Linked DNA regions of Homo sapiens: region 1 is linked to region 2. The links are contacts of gene promoters, found by promoter capture Hi-C in human tissues and cell types (Jung and others, 2019). All regions are on one chromosome and are shown on one strand. Each heading gives the region's core, a stretch centred on a gene start or on the middle of the fragment in contact. The rest is flanking DNA. Distances are from core to core; before and after follow the strand shown. Region 1 overlaps AJAP1 (adherens junctions associated protein 1). Region 2 holds the start of NPHP4 (nephrocystin 4).

The links. The method cuts DNA at HindIII sites, captures the fragments that hold promoters and counts their contacts. A contact is called where the count stands out against the background at its distance.
Region 1: a contact is called between a fragment that was not itself captured here and the fragment with the promoter of NPHP4 in region 2, in 1 of the 25 tissues and cell types used here (dorsolateral prefrontal cortex).

What each region holds. Positions count from the first base shown.
Region 1 is chr1:4,676,410-4,680,779 of GRCh38, reverse strand. All of the region lies in intron 1 of AJAP1 (adherens junctions associated protein 1), which reads right to left. Among named protein-coding and RNA genes, the nearest start is that of AJAP1, 24 kb to the right of the region's middle. The HindIII fragment of the contact is 5,641 bases long and covers 1-4,370 here.
Region 2 is chr1:5,990,654-5,994,932 of GRCh38, reverse strand. NPHP4 (nephrocystin 4) reads left to right here and starts at 2,508. Exons shown (of 30, transcript NM_015102.5): 1 at 2,508-2,689. It also overlaps a transcript of KCNAB2 not described here. RefSeq lists enhancers at 1,159-1,208, 3,085-3,939 and silencers at 1,959-2,208, 2,289-2,468, 2,509-2,678, 2,829-3,008. The HindIII fragment of the contact is 9,165 bases long and covers 1-4,279 here.

The DNA of each region.
Region 1 (4,370 bases), core at 1,388-3,887, 1.3 Mb after region 2:
ACCATTCTTACTGGAATGGAAACAAATTTTATACATTTATATATAAAAACTCCAGTGCACCTGAAAACACAGCTTTAATTCCCTTTTTCTGGGAAGTCATTTATGCCCAGCATATGTACCAGACTCAAGGGTGGCTTTACATGAGAGATAAGTGGACATCAGTGGCCTGGATGGAGGCCAGCTTTGTAATGGTCATTCATTCACAAACATCTATGGGGCAAGGCTCTGAGCACTACAGGGTAGAAAAGAAAGAAAGCCGGCTGACCCATAACCCAACCCCTACCCAGCCTCTGTCTCCCATAGGAGGGTGTAACTGGGTGGAATTGTGTCCCCCCATGTTCATGTCCACTTTGAACCTCAGACTGTGACCTTATTTTGAAATAGGGACTTTGAAGATGTATTTAAGATGAGGTCATATTGGATCACCATGGACCCTAAATCCAATGACTGGTGAGAGGGTTAATTTTACTTGTCAACTTGACTGGGCTACGGGGTGCCCAGATGTGTGGTCAAAGATTACTCTGGGTGTATGGGTGAGGGTGTTCATGGATAGGATTAACATCTGAATCAGTGGACTGAGTAAAGCTGATTGCTCTTTGTAATGTGGGTGGGCTTCATCCAATCAGATGAAGGCCTGGATAGAAGACTGACAGAGAGGGAACACTCTCTGCCTGACTGCTTTGAGCTGGGACATTGGTCTTTTCCTGCCTTCAGACTCAAACGGAAACATCAGCTCTTCTTGAGTCTCAAGCTTGCCAGCTTCTGAACTGGAACTATAACATTAGCTCTTCTGGTTCTCAGTTCTACAGTATTAAATGAGAGCTTACACCATCAGCTCTCCTGGGTCTCCAGCTGGCTGGCTGCAGATCTTGGGGATTCTCAGCCTCCCTGATCATGTGAGCCAACTCCTTGTAAGTATCTCTCTCTACACACACACACACACACACACACACACACACACACACACACACCCTATTGGTTCTGTTTCTAAGCAGAACCCTGATTAATACAACTGATGTCTTTATAAGAAGAGGCAAGGACACATGTGGATGGGAGAAGGCCATGTGAAGTGGAGGCAGAGATTTGAGTGATGCATCTATAAGCCAAGAAACACCAAGGACTGCCAGCAACCACCAGAAGCTGGAAGAGGCAAGGAAGGATTCTACCCTACAGATTTCAGAGGGAGTATGGCCCTGCCAACACCTTGATTTTGGACATCTAGTCTCCAGAACTATGAGGTAATATATTTCTATCATTTTAAGCCATCCAGTTTGTAGTACTTTATGGTGGCCACATTAATCTAATGCAGACAGCCTGAAGTCCTCAGGTCACTTATGATCTGAGGCCCCTAATAAAGATTCCAGAATATAAATAACTTTCATTCATTCATTCATTCATCACTCAGATATTTCTCCTGTGCCTGCTATTTGTGGGTCTTTGTTCTAGTAGCTGGGGACATGGGACAAAACCCACTGCCCTCCTGGAGTTCAGGTCCCAGGAGAGGAGACAAGCAGGAGAGAATCCAATGTGTAAAGTGCACAGTGGATCCCATGGTGATGAGTACTGTCAAGAGAAATTACTACGTCAGGCAGCAGGTTTCCCAAGTGTTAGGCTGCAGTTTGAAATAGGATGGTTCTCTTCCAAACTTGAGAAAGCTGGCAAATGCATGGCACTGAGCTGTCTCCCAGAGTCCAGGTCTTGGTCAGCAGCTTGCCCCTGGCCTTCTAGGATGAAGCAGTTAAGGGCAGGTGCACCTGATTGTGCAGTTTGAATGCATGCTATGTAGCCTTGTGCAAGTTACTGAACATCTCTGGGAATTGTCTTTCTGAGCTGTGCAATGAGGATTAGGATAGGAGCATACCTACTCGGTTGTTATGAGGATTACATAAGATGTTTTAAATGAGATGCATCTGGCTCACAGTCCTGTTGAGTCAATAAATGTTAGTGATTATTTGGAACTGCCCAAAGAGAGCAAATGACCGCAGTGGTGGACATGCTCTAAGGAGGCAGGCAGGGTCCCCACCTCCTGGTGTTCAGTCTTAGATGGTGCACTCCCTCGAGTGTGGGTGGGACCCATGACTCACTTCTAGCCAACAGGATACAGCAAAGGTGATGATGTTACTTCTGTGATAACGGTACATGAGATTGTAACATCCATCTCGCTAGGGTACTCTCTCCCTTGCTGGCTTATTGTGAGTTCTCATTTGGAGAGGGCTGCAGGGCAAGGCACTGACAGCCAGCAGAAAACAGAGGCCCTCTGTCAGGCAGCCTTCAAGGAAATGCATGCTGCTAACAACCACATGAGCTTGGCAGTAAATCCTTCCCCAGTTGAGCCTCTGATGAGATCACAGACCCGGCCAACATCTGGTTTCAGCCTTGCACAGGGCCCAACTAAGTTGTGCCCAGACTCCTGACCCAGGGAACATGTGAGATAATATGTATGAGTTGTCATTTGTGAATGAGCAGTATGTAACCAATAGATAGTAGTGCACACTCCTAGACCAGATTCACTCATATTTGTGATACAATTTCAAGTGCTCATTTCTACCCAACACCACTCTAACTGCTTCACAAATATTTGTTCTTCTTCAACTGCACCCAAAGGAATGCTATGAATTTCAGGCCACAGGAAAGATTCACAAGGGAGATGGTAATTCAACACAGTCCCTAGCACTGGCCAAAGGGACACCCTGCTGCAGTCTTGCTGGCATGGCTTTCTCTGCTGTATGTGGGAAATGCATCAACCCACCCCACTGGGGGCTGCTGTACCCACCATCTGACGGCACCAGGGCTGATCGACATCCTCTACGAGCCACCAGGAAATGTGCTACTCATGAACATAACAAGCACTCCTCCTCACCTGATATTTATATGTTTTACGAAAATTAGTGAGTTGGCATTCCAACTGGAAGCAATAGTTGGCTCCAGCACCACAATGGACAGAGAAAGGAACTGTGTCATTTTCATCACCTATGAGATATATTTAGCTACTGGCTTCTGATGACCTCAACACATAGGCACATGATTTTTTTTTTTGAATGCACATCATTTTCATTCGGAGCATTACCTGGAATATCATCTGCCCCATATGAATACCCGCTGGCTGACTTTTTAAGAGTTTCTCCTGCACACCCTGGCTTTATGCCCGCTGAATGGCAAGCCTTGGTTTCAGATGTTAAATTTTTTTTTAATCCTTCCTTCCCTCCTTAATCCCTTCTCTGTCATCTGCTTGGCGTCACAGAGTGGACCCAGAGAGAGGTGGAATCCCCTCTGGAAAGAGGAGAGAAAAGCCGCTGGCCAGCTCCTGTGGAAGCCCTCCTGCATTTGAAGAGTTTATTTACTACAAATAAAAGCAATTAATTAGCCGGGCAGCTGTACACACAGGGCAGCCTCTCTATTCGTGGAATCAGGGATGTGTGAGGTCAGAATCCTCAACCTTTAGGAGCCCTACAAAGCGAGAACTTGCAGGCAACTGCAGCCCACCCTGACTGTCTGCTGGCGGGTCCCCCTTGGCAGCATCCCAGCCACATGTCACTTACCCAGACTTACCAACCTCTGATCATGTGAAATTCATAGCATCGCATTAGAGGCATTTGGGTTCATTGCTTTTCTTTTATTTTTTGAGACGGATTCTCACTTTTGTCGCCCAGGCTGAAGTGCGGTGGCACGATCTCAGCTCACCGCAACCTCCGCCTCCCAGGTTCAAGCAATTCTCCTGCCTCAGCCTCCCAAGTACCTGAGATTACAGGCACACGCCACCACACCCAGCTAACTTTTGTATTTTTAGTAGAGACGGGGTTTCACCATGTTGACCAGGCTGGTCTCGAACTCCAGACCTCAGGTGATCCACCTGCCTCGGCCTCCCAAAGTGCTGGGATTACAGGCGTGAGCCACGGCCCCTGGCCATTTTATTTTCTCTTTGAAACTCTGTAGCCAACAGCATTGCACATGTTCTTCCCACTCTTGGCAAATTCGAGAATGCAATACCCCTTTTGGCATCTACAGGCTAAAAACTTCAAGTGGCTAATTCTGTGCCACCTGTCCCCCTTGGTGCAAATACTGAGAGCAAAGATCTGTTTGAGAGTATGTTGTCCCCAAAGGCCAGATGACAGATGAGCTGGGCACCCGACAATCCAGTCTCCCTCACTCCCGTCCCCCCATCATCTCCTGATTACTTTGTGGGCTGGATTTCCCAAGGAACGGCCCCTCTCTCTCAGTCTCACATGATTTCAAAGCTGACTTCCCAGAGTCCCTGAGGCAGCGTTGGTTTCACTGTTTCTGAGAAGGGGTAATGCAGGTGGCTTCAGGCCCCCAGGACGACGAGAGCTAGGGTCAGAGTCTAACCAAGCCAGCTGGACCGGAAGCTTCAC
Region 2 (4,279 bases), core at 1,259-3,758:
CACAGGAAGGTCTAGGGGAGGCCCCTCCCTCCAAGCCCAGGCCGGAAACTGCCAAATCAAAACTGTGTGGCACTCGCTTCCTCCTGAACCATTTGGGTCTTAGAAGATGACTGAAAAATGAAAGCGAGGAAGCCTTCTCTAGCTGGCCAGCCCATGGCACCCTCGGCCTTTCCAGCTCTCTAGCGCCATGGCCCACGTCCCACCTCCCGGGTGCAATGGCTTCTGTGCACACTGCTTCCCATCCAGGCTCCAAATCCAGACCCAAGACGGTTCTCAACCAAGAAACACACGAAAAGGGTTTCACACTTTTTCACGACACCCCCCAACTCCAGTGCCTGGCTCAGCCCCCAGGTGTTGACTAGCACCTACAAAGCATTTGCTGACTGGCGCAGGGAAAAAAAAAATGGCCCTGGGTGTCAACAGGGAAGCCCCTACCATGCTGCTCTCGAGGGATGTGCTGCGGCCCGAACACTGTCAGTGCCACTGAGGCCGAGTGTGGCCGTGGAGACAATGACAGGACCTGGAGGACCAAGTGCACTCTTAGGGCCCCACACTGCGAGAGCACAGGGCCAGGAGCTGCACAGGGCTCTGCAGCAGACACGGCCGCCAGGCGAGAATCAGGTGGGCAGATGTGACTCTCCACACGTAGGTCCCCAAACCCTGCAACCTGCAACGCGGGGCCTGAATGCGGCTTCCTTAGCAGAGCAGGAGCTTACTCTTGGCACTGGGGGAAAGGGGAGGGGTGAGGCTGGGGTTTTTGTCGGGGAGGAGAAGTTGCAGAGAAAGAAAAAATCCTGAAACGACAGACAGTGGGACAGCTGTGGCCTGAACTTGGTGTTCTTGCTCCTCGGATGTGGATGTATTAATTTCCATAAATGCTAATAGCCCACTTCCCCAAGAGCTATTACTTATGTCATCTCCCCTTGGACACAGTTCAACACAGGGCAGACAAATGAAAGGGAGGAAAAGACAACCCCCAGTGGCGGTCCCCAGCTCCTCAGCCCCCTCCCAACCAGGCAGCTCAGGTCTGGTTCCTAAGGTGGCCCTGCTAACCGCAGGGTCAAGACCCCTGCCTTCAGCTCCGTAGCCAGGTCCCTATCACGACAGGAAGCAAGAAAGTTACCAACCCCAAAAATGCTGAATCACAAAGTGAGGCTGAGCAGGAAAGTGGGGGTGGGGAGGGAAGGAGACGGTGGCCAGGGAGGAAAGGTGCTAAGGGGCTTTCCACCTGGAGCACCCCGGGATGCTGCGGGCAAAGCACAGTCCCTGTAAGAGCCCCCAGGACAAATGCCAGGAGGAGGGACACCAGGATGCGGCTGGTTGGCGGGGTGGGAAGGTGGGCAGGTACCCCGGCTGCTGCTAATGCCGCAGGACGCGGTGCAGCAGTGGGGTCTTTGCATCCTGGGAGCAGCAGCAGGTAGGGAGGTGCGGAAGTGCTTTGTGCCAAGGCCTGGCAGGAGGGAGAAGCTTAAGATAGGAGTAGGGGCTCAGGGTCAGAAGTGGCGGTGTGTGTGCTGTAAACAGCCCGAGGAACTGGTGCAGGAAGCAGGGTCACAGTCTTGGGGAGCAGGGTAAGGTGGTGAGAGCGTGCCCGCGGGGAGAGGTCGGAGGGGCTGGGGGCAGAATGGGAGGGTGGGGAAAGGGACCGGAGCGACACAGGGACAGGCAGCGAGAACGACGGATGAGCCTTGAGAAGCGATCAGGAGGAGAGATGGGGAGGACCGGGAACAGCAGCGCCCCGGTGGGGCTGCGCAGAGGCCGGGAGAGGGGATGAGAGGAGGATGGAGGAAAGGGGAGGGCGAGGCTGCTAGGACCGGAGCGGGCAGAGATGGGGAAGAGGTGCACCGGGAAGAGGGACGGCGGCAGGGGCAGGGGTCAGGGATGCGAGCTGAAGGGTCGGGCGGGCGGGAGGACAGGGAAGGAAAGACAGAAAGGGATGGGGGAAGGGAGACGATGGAGAAGGAGGTGAGGAGGCTGGAGAGGAGGTGAGACAGCGGCGGAGGCAGGGACGCAGGGCCGGGGAAGAAGAGATGGAGACGGGACCGCGGCGCCTGCCGCAGCGCGGGCCTCGCGGATACCCGCCGCCGCCGTCCCGGAGCAGCTTGGTGGAAAGCGCGCCCCGCCGGGGTCTCCCCGGTACTCACCTGGGGGCTCCAGCTCCGGATCCTGTGCCCCGCGCCGGATCTTCCTTCCCGCCCTGCCCCTGCGACTTTAGCGCCCCCGAATCCCGCTAGCTCCTGCAGGTTCCGCCAGCAGCATCTTCACCTCGTGGGACGCCCGGGGCCACGCCTCTTCCAGCTTCTGATTGGCTATTGTTCACGCCAGTCACATTACCATTGGTTGAGGGGTCGTCGGACATGCAAATCAGGATGGGCCCGCCGCCGCACCGATTGGCTGGCGCTCGCAAAGCGCAGCCCTCGACTTGGGCTCTGATTGGCTCCGCGGCCCTGACGGCGACAGTGACGCGAGGCGGGTTCTTGGACTGAGTGTGCGGCGCGGTGCGCCGCCTTCCGAGGCTCCTCCCGCGGGTGGCAGCGGACGGGGCGCGCCCCTCGGCCAGTCCTCGGTCCTCAGGCTTGTGGCTCCGTTGAGCACCGGCCGCCGGGCCTCTGGGTCCGTCGAGTGGAGACTCTCTGAAAAGCGTGGGCTCCGTGGCCTCCGGCGCGGCCGCGGCGGGTCGGTCTCCTAGGTAACGCGGCCCGCGGCGGGCGGAACCATGTGGGCCGGCGCCGCGGGGGAGGTTGGACGCGGCCTCGAGGCACAGGGGGCCTCAGTGTTGGCCAGAGCCTCGGGGTTCGGGGGTAGGGTGGTCCACGCCGTCCCTGCGTGGGGGCCCGGTGCCTGGGGTGCGGCGGTGGCGCGCGGCGGGGGCTGTCCCCGCGTTAGTCGCAGGCGTCCCCCCTCGTCGGGACACTTGGGGTCGGGGCCGCTGGGTGCCGTTTGGCTACGTGGGTTCCTTTCTGCCCTTGCCCTTTGCCCCCTGCCCCCTGCCCCCTGCCCCCTGCCCCCTGGCCTCTCTGCAGCCCCTCGGCTGAAGGGAGCGCGGTACCGATGTTCTGGGCCTTGGCTCCCCGCGCCCTAGTCCGCGCGCATCCTTCCCAGGCCGGAGTCCGCGGACCCCGCCTGGCCGCGCCCCTCCGCCCCTCCTCCCCGCCCCCCGGCTCCAGCTCCGGCTCCGGCTGTCAGTTCCCCGCGGTGGCTCTGCGGCCTTCGGGCGTCCCTGCGAGGCTTTGTACCCGGCGCCGTCCCGGCCTTCTGCGCCCCTTTCCTGCCTTGGAACCTCCCGGCCGACCCGGCCCGGAAGGCGCCACCCGCTCCCGCGTGCCCTTCCCCACGCGTGCAGGCTGCTCCCGCCCGCCCCCGGGCTTGCAGGCACCTCGCTGCCCGAGATTCCTCGTGTCTAACTTCTTAGGAGACCGCTGCTTTCTGCCTCCGTGTGTCGCGATGTGTGGCTTTGGTGGACGTCTGTGAAGGAAATCCAGCCTCTCGCGTGTGTAGTTGGCAAAAGGAGGAGTATTTCTGTTGATGGTGGGCAGCGCCTCCCGGTCCTAACCCAGGGCTCCGTTCGTTGCACCTCCTCTGTGCAGTTTCCGTAGGTCACACTTGTGTCTTTTTGTATGCTAATTTGTGCCCCGTTTCTTTACATTCTATGGGGGTAGCGAGCTTGTCTGCTGTGTTCAAGACCGTTTCTCCCGGGCGCAGGGTAGGTGCTGAAAGAATGCTCATGAATGAGGGAATTCCAGGCAGTGCTTAATCAGACCTCTGCTTCCCCAAAAGCTCCCCAAGGCATCTGGGTCTCAGGCATTACACATTTTCCATTCCGGGAAGGAGGCTTCCCGGACCCTGACAGCGCCTCCCACCCCCTGCATCTTCCTTCAGCCCTGCTCACCTCTGCACCCTCCCGGGGGCCTGTTGCTGCTCACAGTCACTTTCTTGTCTTTCTCCCCCACTGGCTTTCTAGATGCTTGAAGACAGCACATTTGACAGCCTTCTTATGCACTGGAACACAAGTGCTCGGGAAATAGTTGCTGAATAGATCAGCAGAAGCAGAGATCTCAAGGAGATTTCACAGCTCTCATTTTGGAGGTTGGAAACAGGTGGGGAGGCTGCGAATCTGTCCTGAAGTTAAAGAGGAGACAGCATTAGCCCTGGGTTCCTTTGGTGCTCTTACTTTTTCCCTCTGGGCCTCTCTTCTCCCTTGGCCTCTCCTGGCCTCCTTGATTGAGGTAGTGGGAGGTAGTTATAATAGCTTACAGTATTATATCTATAATACTATTAT